Regions from separate parts of the Homo sapiens genome. Here regions 1 and 2 are each linked to region 3. Evidence: promoter capture Hi-C in 16 types of primary human blood cells and fetal thymus (Javierre and others, 2016). All regions are on one chromosome and are shown on one strand. The core of a region is centred on a gene start or on the middle of the fragment in contact, and the rest is flanking DNA. Distances in the headings are between cores, read along the strand shown. Region 1 has its middle 20 kb from the start of LINC02425. Region 2 has its middle 19 kb from the start of LLPH. Region 3 holds the start of MSRB3 (methionine sulfoxide reductase B3).

Region 1 (3,845 bases), core at 1,240-3,739, 770 kb after region 3:
TTAGTTCTTGTGGTGATGAAAGGTAAAACAGAGGGTGCAATAAGATTCAGGAATAATCTGTGGACTTTTATTTTTTAGTGTGATCTATCTCACAGAAAATTGACATGTTTGTTTTTATTTTATGGAAAACTAACTTTACTCTCAAAATGTTCCTTTACCGTGTTTTTTGGTGAAAAACATTTTTAAATAGTCTCCACAATTGTTGAATGGCTACTTTTCTGATGAATTTCTTAAGCAGTAAGAGAAGTCCCTACAGCAAGCAGTCTGCTGTTTTGAAATTGTTTGCAAGGGAAAGTATTGTATAAAGATAATTATGTTGTGGCTAAAGAACTATCTTAGGCTAAAGTCCTTGAACAAAGAACAGATAAGCATGTCTTTGTTTGAAGTTTTGTGGTGAAATAATCATTGGCAGCTTATGTAGATATGCCTTGATTGATAACTATCCTATGTTTTTTTTTTTTTTGTTTTTTTTTTTTTTGAGACAGGGTCTCTCTCTCTCTGTCACCCAGGCTGGAGTGCAGTGGTGCAATCACAGCTCAATGCAGCCTCTACCTCCTGGGCTCAAGCAGTCCTCCCATCTCAGCCTCCTGAGTAGCTGGAACTACAGGCATGCACCACCATGCCCAGTTAATTTTTCAAAAATTTTTTTGTAGGGACAGGGCCTCCCTATGTTACCCAGACTGTTCTCAAACTCCTGGCCTCAAGCAATCCTCCTGTCTCAGCCTCCCAAAGTGCTGGAAGGCTGAAACAGCCCAGCCTCTATGAAAATATTTTTTTAAATGTGGAGCATTTGCTGGGTAACAAAGTACCTTTTTAAAAAAATCCACATTGAAGAAAGTCATGTATTCACTCAGCAAATATTTACTGAGTTGCTTCATCTGCATAAACACAGATATAAATTCTTGATACATCATTTTTAAAACAAATAATGATTATAATTACTCAAGGGGAACTTAAGACTGATTACTGTTGGCAAATACAAAATCATAATACCATATATTGAGCAATTACTAAATATCAGGCACATACTAAGTGCCAAATGTATATATTATCTCACTTAATCCTCTTGGTAACTCTTTGAGGTATTTTCATTAACCCCTTTTTACAGGTGAGGAATCTGAAAGTCAGAGAGATAAAGAAACTTGTCAAAGTTTGTTAGAGCTAATACACAGAACCAGGTTTTGAACTCTGGAATGTCTAGTTCCAAAGGCTTATCACTTAACCACTATCTCCCCATTGCCTTAGGTAATATATTAGCCAAAAGAAGAGCTACTTATTGAGATACTTATCCCTGGTTGGTAACATGGTAACACATCATTTACAGTGTACAAGATGTGTAGCCACTAACAACAACCCTTGAGGCAGGTGTTTATTAACTCTTCTATTCTAGAGCTGAGTAAATTGAGACTTAAGGAAATTAAGGGACTTACCTAAAGTCATACTGCTAGCATGAGGCAGGATGAAGACCAGAAGTCAGGAACAACTCCTCTGCTGTTGCAACTGTACCACTCTGTACTACAAAGAGGTAGAAGGAGAAGTGATGGGAGGTTTGTCTTTCAAAACACGTGCACATGCACTCCACAAGTAAGGAGGTACTAGTACTTCTCTTTGTGTTAATAAAAATAATAATTTGAATTAAAATGCCTCTCAATTTTAATTTTACAAAAATTCAGCAGCAATTAAAACAATTCATTAGCCTAACAATAAATACCAACAGAATCACATATTTAGAGTCCTCATAAAATATTAAGGTATTACTGATTATAAAAAACATATTTTTCTTGGTTTCTGTATTTAATAGCCTTTCAAGGGCTGGAGATTGTTTAGAATTACAGATAATGATTTTAAATCTTTTTCACTGTAGGAAAACATAGCAAGATAAAACGAGGAACTCATTATCTACCTGTTTTAATATGAAAGCGGGTAAATTTTCCAAAATGAATTGTTAATGAAAACTCTGAACAGATAATAAACCACGAAGAGACCTTTCAATCCCGTTAATTCTTGAAGTTGAAATTTTTAAATTTAAAATGGAGAGGAAAGAGTAAAAAACTCTATCCCTCTGAAGGATGTTTAGAGGATATAATTCAAAAATTCGGTGCCAACAACAATTTATACACAGCATGAAGAACAATGAATTCCACTTCTGTGGTTGTATCTGGAGAATAAAACAAGTCAAAAGGAAAAATTCCAAAGAAGGTTTAAATTTATTCTCCAACCTCAGAGCCTAGTTCGAGTTCGCCTGTGTGGTTTTATTGCTTAGTTCACACATAGGAATTAGCACTGGGGATCCTAAAAGCCTGTTTAAAAAAAAAAATCTTTTGCTCCTGGTGTTGATACAAGAAAACACTCTTTCTTAAATTCAGTATGTGATTATTTGCTTCCTCATAAGTTCAAAATGCGTGAAAAGAGAGAGGGGAGTGTCTTTAAAAAAGAACATCCTTCCACCACATTTTAAAACATTGCTCTTTTGTCAATGACAGGCAATTGGGGGCTTCTAAAAACAAAGGAACATAGTGGTATCTTTCAAATTAGTCAAGAGGGAATTTAGTGTCAAGTTATGTTCATAACCAGATTACCCATGGAGTTGCTTTCTGTAGTTACTTCTTTATAGGGAATATATATAACTTAAATTTTAAATCACCAAGATTTAACATTGATCTTTACTACAGTAAAATCCCACTGTGGGGGAAGGAGGGGGAAACTCTTACCATGGCATTCCTTCAGGAATAACTTTTTATAGTTGCAACCAGATAAAATATGATTTGCCTATAAGATGAAAGCTACTACTATATTTTACCATCTGCATTATATATTACTGTGAAATTATATTAAAGTTATATTGAAATAAGTGCTAGAAGAAGACCAATTGTCTAACCAAAGAAAACATTCAGAAATCTAATAGTTTCAGAAAGGAGAAATGTAAGGTACAAAATGTATATTTTGCCGAAGTCGTATAACAGAATGATCAAGGAAAGACCATCTAAATTGCCTAGGAGTCTAGGCGTTCACAGTCATGTGTTAAACTCCAAGATAGGTGGAATCTCACCATCCTGACATAACCACATGAACCACTTGTAAATATACCATTTACATTAGCATTTGAACTTTATCTGATACCTTTCCACACTTCAGAGGCCACTGCCAATCAAACTAGTTTTTTAAAATGCATTAGCTCTTTTTGTCTTGGTCAAGCTAATCAAAGTTTTTGTAATTTTGCACTTGGTAGCATCCACAATGTGGCACAAGTTTGAGATAAGAAAAATCTTAGAATTCTTTCGTTTGCTTCTTGAAACAGACACCAGATCCCTAATCTGTGTTTTCATTCAAGTTTGCTCATTTCCACTTATTTTATCTTAATATCTTTTTATATTTTGTAGATGCAAATTTTCTTCTTGATTCAACATTGTCAAGAAAATGTACCTTATATATGAGGATTTCAAAGCTATCTTCTAAACTGTAAAGTAATATTTACATTCCCCAAAATTTGCCATCCCAAAAGATTTTTAATTACAAAGTTTAAAAAAACAAGATGCACCAATTTTCCCACTTTAAATATTTTCAATGACCTAATTTTTAAATGATTTTTTAAAAACCAAACAGGTCCCTTTTGGGTAACCCTCATATCACCACCTACTTTGGGGTAGATGTAATGAAGCTGAGATATTGGGGTACAACATCTGGCAAGGACTTGTGAATTACAATTTTCTTTTACAACTGAAAACCATATCCTGGTCAGGTCTCAGTGGGGTTTAATGCTGTCAGAGCACACAAGGTTTGTTTTGATCTGTTATGGAGGAACACACATAGCTTTCAGTTCGCACTAATAACATCCCTGTGTCTGG
Region 2 (3,468 bases), core at 826-3,325, 830 kb after region 3:
GCTGAGGCAGGAGAATTGCTTGAACCCAGGATCCAGAGGTTGCAGTGAGCTGAGATTGCACCACTGCACTCCAGCTTGGGTGACAGAGCAAGACTCCATCTCAAAAATAATAATAATAATAATAATAATAATAATAATAATAATAATAGATGTCACAAGTCAGCATAAGTAAAGCATTGAGGGTCTCTGTGCATCTCCCACCACCAACTCTCCAAATGAAAAAAGCTATTTGTATCAGTTGAAAAGTATTGAAAACACCTGAAATCTGCTACCAAAAATGTGAATGCTATGTCATAATTGTTTACCAAGAGTTTTTTTAAATCATTCTTTTTTTACAAAAAAAGTAAAAATTTATCATTATCACATTCATACAGCCTGTGAATCTCCCTTTGCTCCTTCCTGCTCCCAGCCCCTTATGTTTTTGTCACTTGTTATATGACATTGAGGTAGACCAACAAAAAAAGAGTTCTCAGAATGGGAAATTTGAGTGAGCTGGCACTGTGGGCCTCAAAATCATCTCAGAGGAATAATCAGAAGAATATATATCTGTCCATTGACAGATAACCTGATACACAATGTGTGATATATGCATACAATGAGATATTCCTTGGCCTTAAAAAGGAATGAAGTACTGATGCATACTACAAGATGGATAATAGAGAACCTTGAAAACGTGATGCTGAGTGAAAGAAGCCAGACACACAAGGACAAATATTCCATGATTCCCTTTATATGAGGTATCTAGAGTAGTCAAATTCAGAGAGAGCAAGCAGAATAGTGGAGACTAGGGGTGGAGGGAGGGGAGAATGGGGGGTAATTGTTTAATGGGTGCAGAGTTTCTGTTTGAAATGATAAAAAATTCTGGAAACAGTAGTGACAGTGGTGATGATTGCACCACGCTGTGAAGGTACTTAATGCCACTGAATTGCACACTTAGAAATCGTTAAAAAGATAAATGTTTATGTTTGTATATTTTACCACAATAAAATATCTACTGTTTTCTCTCAGGAAAAAGCAGTAGAAGCCAAGATGCCCTGGCAGTGACAGCCATGGAGTGTGTGAGGAAAAGAGATTACAGAGCGTAAGTGGCATGGGTTTACCTAAGGCAGTTTCCTCCCAGGGCCGGTCAGTGTGTGTCAAACAAAAGGGACTGTCTAGCTAGAGATCACTTTAGAAGTGTCTGACCCATCTAAAGGCAACAATCTCATCAAAAAAACAAAGCAGAACACTGTACAAAGTCTCTCCAGGGCAAGGGTACCAATTTGTCACTCCTGGTATTAGACATCAATATAATGTTAGACCTGCCAGATTGCAGTGGTTGTGAAATCAACTGGAAGTGAAGAAATGGAAGAGAGTATGCTAAGAAGCTTCAATTTGGTCTTGCAGCCATGGGAAGTTTCCTAGCAGGAGAATGACTTACTGAAAGGAATGTTTTAAAAGGCTTAAATTTTACAACCCTTCAAGGGTACCCCAGACAAGCACTCACTCACTCCTGGAAGGATTACTAATTGTTTCAGCCTTTCAGGAGAGCAGTTTGGCAATACAGATAAGGAGTCTTAAAGAAAAGTTCATACTCTTCTAGAACCCTTCCTCAAGAATATAATCAGATAAGGATTAGACTTACATGTAAGGTCATTAATATTACAGAGAAGTATTTTAATAGCAAAAATAAAAAGTTTTTTCAGAAAAAAATTAAATGTCCAAAAGTAGACAAATAAAAAAATATATAGTTTATCACAAGACAGAATGAGGGAACTTTTCAAACAACACTCTTAAAAAATTTCCAGCAGCATGGGAAAAAAATCCCCATGATATAAAGTTAAGAAAGCAGAATATAAAATTATACAGTATTAAGACAATTATGAAAATATACACAGAGCTACACATTCTCTGGGTGGTTGGATTATGAATTATTTATTTCATTTATACTTTCTTGGGTTTTAAAATTTTCTCCAACATACATGTGTTACTTTTATGAGAAAAAACAACAAAAGTTATGGAAAGAAAAAGAAGTTGACAACCACACAAGATGAATTAGAAGGGAAAGAGTAGAGACAAAAACAAAAAAAATCTGGCCTTTGATGGAGGGCATGGGGGAGGGGGGAAGTTTGTTACTGCTGTTTTGTTTTGTTTCAAGTAAAAGATGTTATACTACCTGTGGAACAAAGAGGCACAGCCACCAATGGGAAAGGATTGGTTATTAACTACGGCAGAAACAGACCTACAGAAAAGATCACTAGTCACACACCATAGCTTTATTTAACAACCCCTCTTTTATAGAAAAGAATACAATTAATTTTGACATTAGTCCAAATGTTATTATTTGTGTGGTTAATTGTCACCTATTTATGGTTTTGAAAAAGATTGGTCTGTGAATACAAAGACTCTTGGGCTCCTGGTCTCTGCCATGAACTACTAACCTCTTGGGGAAATTGGCCTCAGTTTCCTCATCTGTTAAGAAGCACAAGTTAAAATAGATGATCTCTAAAACGTTTTCCAGCCTTAAATGCTATGACTATTTTAGTCCATATTAATTTCCTATTAATGAAACCAACCTGTAAGTGTATTTTCAGCTAGACCACCCACCAAATCAAACTAAATTGGAATGTCTTTACATGTGCCAGTATTCTAGGTGCCATATTAAATTAAAACAGAGTTCTTTCTCCAGCATTTAACATTTTCAAAAATTGTTTGTAGACTTAAGGGAAAAGTGAGTTATGAGATTTGTGAAAAAAGCTCTACAATGGGACAATCTTTTTTTTTTTTTAAGTCCAAAGACTAAAAGAAGCTTAGTTGAGGTGGCAGATGGGGAACACACCTAAACATACAAACAACCTTTTGGTACCACCTGCCTTGCATTGATACAGAGTGAGGGTAAGCTTGTCTATTTTTTTTTTTTTTAATACAACTGCCTTCCAATAAGAAACTTGGAGGGATTCTCCAAATATAAAATGCAACAGGATGGAAACATAAAACCAGATCCAACTCACCTGAATTTTCAAATAAAGAACAAAAGCCTTCATTTAACAAACAGAAAATATTTTATTTTTTTACTTTTCATTTTTCTTTTCAGTAGTGGTACTTCTTGCTATAGAAAATATTTTAAAGCAGCAGTCTGCAAACTTTTTCTTAAAAGGCCAAATTTTAATTTAGGCTTTGCTGATTATACAAGAATCTCTGTCACAACTATTCAGTTCTGCCTTTGTAGCACAAATTATTCACAGACAATTCATGGACATGTGGACATGGCTTTGTGCCAATAAAACTTTTTTACAAAAACAAAGGGCCAGCCCATTTGCATACTATCTTAGTCTATTTTCTGTTGCTATAACAGAATACCTGAGACTGGATAATTTATAAAGAAAAGTGATTTACTTAGCTCAGAGTTCTGGAGGCTGGAAAGTCCAAGATCAGGTTAGCGCATCTGGTGAGGGCCTCTTGCTGCTCCATAGCATGGCAGAAAAGAGG
Region 3 (3,446 bases), core at 717-3,216:
ATGCACTTAGTAACTTTAGTTCTTTTCTGCCACTCTTAGCATATTTATTCAAGCCTTTAGAATAGTGGTTGGCATTGCTGACAGTGATGTCAGCTATGTTGATACAATGAACTCTCTATTTTTACTAACATGAATTGGGTTGTAATGATATTGCATTTTTTATAATTCTATATTTTTGTATGTAAGGTTCTTCACTAAAATATTTTAAATATAGGCATAATTATTGCAATCCTTTGAAACATGCTTTACACTTAGGGAGCTTCTAAATTCCTTTCTACAAATGGCTGTGCCCATTTTATTTTTGTTTTTAAACAAACATTTGGACTATGGGCAAAGAACTTTGCAAAGTGTTGTGGGGGAAGTAGAAAAACAGACACTTATGTAACACAAGGCTATAAAAAAAGAGGAAACGGAGGGAATACTGAAGAGCTTCTTCAGTATTTCCAACTACCTAGGTTCTAGGTACCTAATTAAATAGTCATGTTATGTGTCATTTAAATCCTTTATTCATTGCATTACAATTTATTCACCATTACTTTATCTGGGTCATCTACCCTTAGTCCCATTATAATTGCCAATGCATTAAGGGTGACATTTGCCCATTTGCTATATGTAATTCACAGGATGTGGTGTTTTTCAGTACCAGATGTTTTGAGGGGAGCCACTTGCAATGGACTGTTTTTTGGTGTATGTGTTTTAATAGTTTGCCAGAACTGAGTTTGATTTGAAACAACGTTCTTGATTTTCAAATACAGCATTTTCAAACAAATAGTGTGATGTACAAATTACCATCACTTTAGTTCACGTTGAAATAATCCACACTCTAAATCTGTTTGACATTTACCCCTTAAGTATTTTGGATCAATAAATCATTTCTGTATCATCTAGCATCTTAAAATGTTCGTAAGTAACTACTTAATACCCTACATATCCAGGTCCTGTCCCATTAGTTTGAGGGAAAAAATATATTATAGTAATTAAGACATAATTATGTTGTCTTGAAAAGCTAAGGGTCATTTGGACTTGATTACCCAAGGAGTTATCAGTGCCAAGGAAAATTAGGCAACTACAGGCTTGGGCCTGTAATTAAACATCTAGGACTGACATTTTGTTCATCAGAGGTGGCACCTTCTGAATGAATTACACCATTTCATTTTAGACAAGCTACGGTACATACAAAACAAGTGTGTGGAGGGGGTTGGGGGGTGGACATGAATAGAGATTGGAGGTGGAGAGAAAGACCGGTGTAAACTTAAGCATTTTGTTGTGAAAAACTACTGTTCAGCCAGCCTGCCTGGGCTCCATATATGGTGTTCAAATATAAGTTTGGGACGAGCACCTTTGCAATTTTGGCCAAGAACACACACACACTCACCCTCCTCTGCTAGAGAGGGCCCGCTCACCTGGAACGCAGGCGGCTGGTTCTCCGTATTACAGTGAGTGCTCGTTCTGTATGTATAGGATGGCCAAGTAACTAACTGGCAGCCCTGCTCCTGCCTCACTCTCCCACAACTTTTTATCCCCTCACCACCAACGCTCTCAACAACCCCTGACACGTCTTCCCACAGGTCCCTGGCTCGCTGTCCGGTCTCTTCGTGTTGGTTTGTCCGTTTCCCACTCCTTCAGCGGTCTCAGGTGGAACACGCCAGGTGGGCGCTTGGCTGTGTTCTGGGGTCCCGAGTTGGAAAGGGATGCCCCCAGGCAGAAGGCGGCCGGCAGCCCTGGGGCAGAGGAGGACGAGGGGGAGGAGAGGAGCAGGAGGGCAGGGCAGAGAAGGAGGAGGAGGAGGACGGTGCAGAGGAGGAGGAGGAGGAGGAAGAGGACAGGGCAGAGGAGGAGGGAGTTGGCGGCCGCCGAGCCCCGGGCAGCGGGCCCCGTCCGCGGCCGGCGCGCTCCGTGGTCCTCCCTCGCTCGTCTCCTATGCTCATATTTGGACTCGGCTGCCCGTGCCCAGGAATTTCCCGTCATGCCTCCCGCCGCCCCGTCCGTCGCCCGGAGCCGGGGAGGGAGGGAGCGAGGTTCGGACACCGGCGGCGGCTGCCTGGCCTTTCCATGAGCCCGCGGCGGACCCTCCCGCGCCCCCTCTCGCTCTGCCTCTCCCTCTGCCTCTGCCTCTGCCTGGCCGCGGCTCTGGGAAGTGCGCAGTCCGGTAAGTTCGGGCTCCCCTCCCCTCTCCTCCTCGCCTCACCCCTCCCACCCCGACCCTGCCACGTTAGGGTGTGACCCCGAGCCGGGATTCCATTCTGCGCCTGCTGCGCCCCCTCGGCCACCTGCGGGGACAGCCCCTGCCTCAGCCGAGAAGGGGAGCAGAAGGGTTGCGCCCCGCGCCAGCGGTGAGGGGCCGAACGGAAGGAGGTCAGGGCTGGTTTCCCCCCACCCGCCGAAGGGAGGCGTCTGGCAGCCTCACTGACACCTTATCCTGTCCCGGGAGCGAACCTGAACCCGCGGGAGCCTCTCGCCCCGCGCGGGCCCAGGAGAGAGGGATCTGGCGGGGCAGCCCGCGGGAGGCAGGGGAGGGGTCCATCCCGGAGCCCTCTGCTCTGTGCGTCGACCCTGCCGGGGTTGCCGCTCAGATAACGGGCCCGAGGCGTGGGAACCGGCCCGCCAGGCCTGCGCTTTTCGCCGCGCGCCTCGGAGAGGACGGGGGTGCGGGGCGGCGGGCAGGCGGCAGGGAGGGGCGCACCCGGGAGCGCACCCGCCGCCCGCCCTCCCTGCGCTGCTGCCCCGCTGCTGGGCCAGACTCCAGCGGGCCCGCCTGGCATTTCACAGGCCAAAATCGAACAGAACCCCGAGTTTGCCAGGTATCAGTTTTGCTTTGTTTTTAAGCAGAAAAAGGCATCCAAGTCTATTTTTGAAGTTTTACACTGGGCTATTTCGAGTCAAACTATATGAATGAAAAGTGCTGTTCCTGCCTTATTTGGTTTAGGGCTAATAGCTATCGGAAGTGGCAGTTATGAAGTCGTTACAGTAAGACTTTATAAGATAATCTTCTTGAATCATGTGGGAACTGTTGGGGGGAATTTAATATCAGATTATTATTTTAAAAAGCAGTTATTTTAAAGTACAAAGGTAGGGATAAAGGTAAATGTGAAATTGCATGGACTTTTACGTTTGTGATGAGTAGTCGTCAAAGCTTCTTGCTTCTTAATTTTATCGGGAATGGAAGAATATAAATTATAATTCCTTAGAGCTGAGATTTCTTAGGAGATTTTAGTTTGCTTTTGTTTTTTCTACCAATAGACTAAATTGTCAAATAAGATATGGCAAACTAGGACTCATAAATTAGTTGAAACATGACTCTATGAAGCATAGATTATATTCAGTACTCTCTGGTTTATCTCTTCATATTTTCATTTGCAGCGCTGGTGGCAAGATCGATTTTCAAAAACAATTTTGTCTATAAAAAAACTTCAGGGTTCATATAACTTATAAAATTGTCAGTTCAG

What was found. Contacts are between HindIII fragments. The CHiCAGO score rates a contact against its expected background, and 5 or more counts as called.
Region 1: a fragment that was not itself captured here is called in contact with the fragment with the promoter of MSRB3 in region 3 in 1 of 17 cell types (M2 macrophages); the score reaches 5.1 in M2 macrophages.
Region 2: a contact is called between a fragment that was not itself captured here and the fragment with the promoter of MSRB3 in region 3, in 4 of 17 cell types (erythroblasts, M2 macrophages, megakaryocytes and 1 more). The highest score is 9.1, in erythroblasts.

The regions. Positions count from the first base shown.
Region 1 is chr12:66,049,349-66,053,193 of GRCh38, forward strand. No RefSeq gene overlaps it. Among named protein-coding and RNA genes, the nearest start is that of LINC02425, 20 kb to the left of the region's middle. The HindIII fragment of the contact is 6,832 bases long and covers 1-3,845 here.
Region 2 is chr12:66,110,435-66,113,902 of GRCh38, forward strand. No RefSeq gene overlaps it. Among named protein-coding and RNA genes, the nearest start is that of LLPH, 19 kb to the right of the region's middle. The HindIII fragment of the contact is 1,421 bases long and covers 1,366-2,786 here.
Region 3 is chr12:65,276,717-65,280,162 of GRCh38, forward strand. It overlaps MSRB3 (methionine sulfoxide reductase B3), which reads left to right and starts at 1,967. Exons shown (of 7, transcript NM_001031679.3): 1 at 1,967-2,149. RefSeq lists silencers at 2,177-2,306, 2,407-2,716. The HindIII fragment of the contact is 13,781 bases long and covers 1-3,131 here.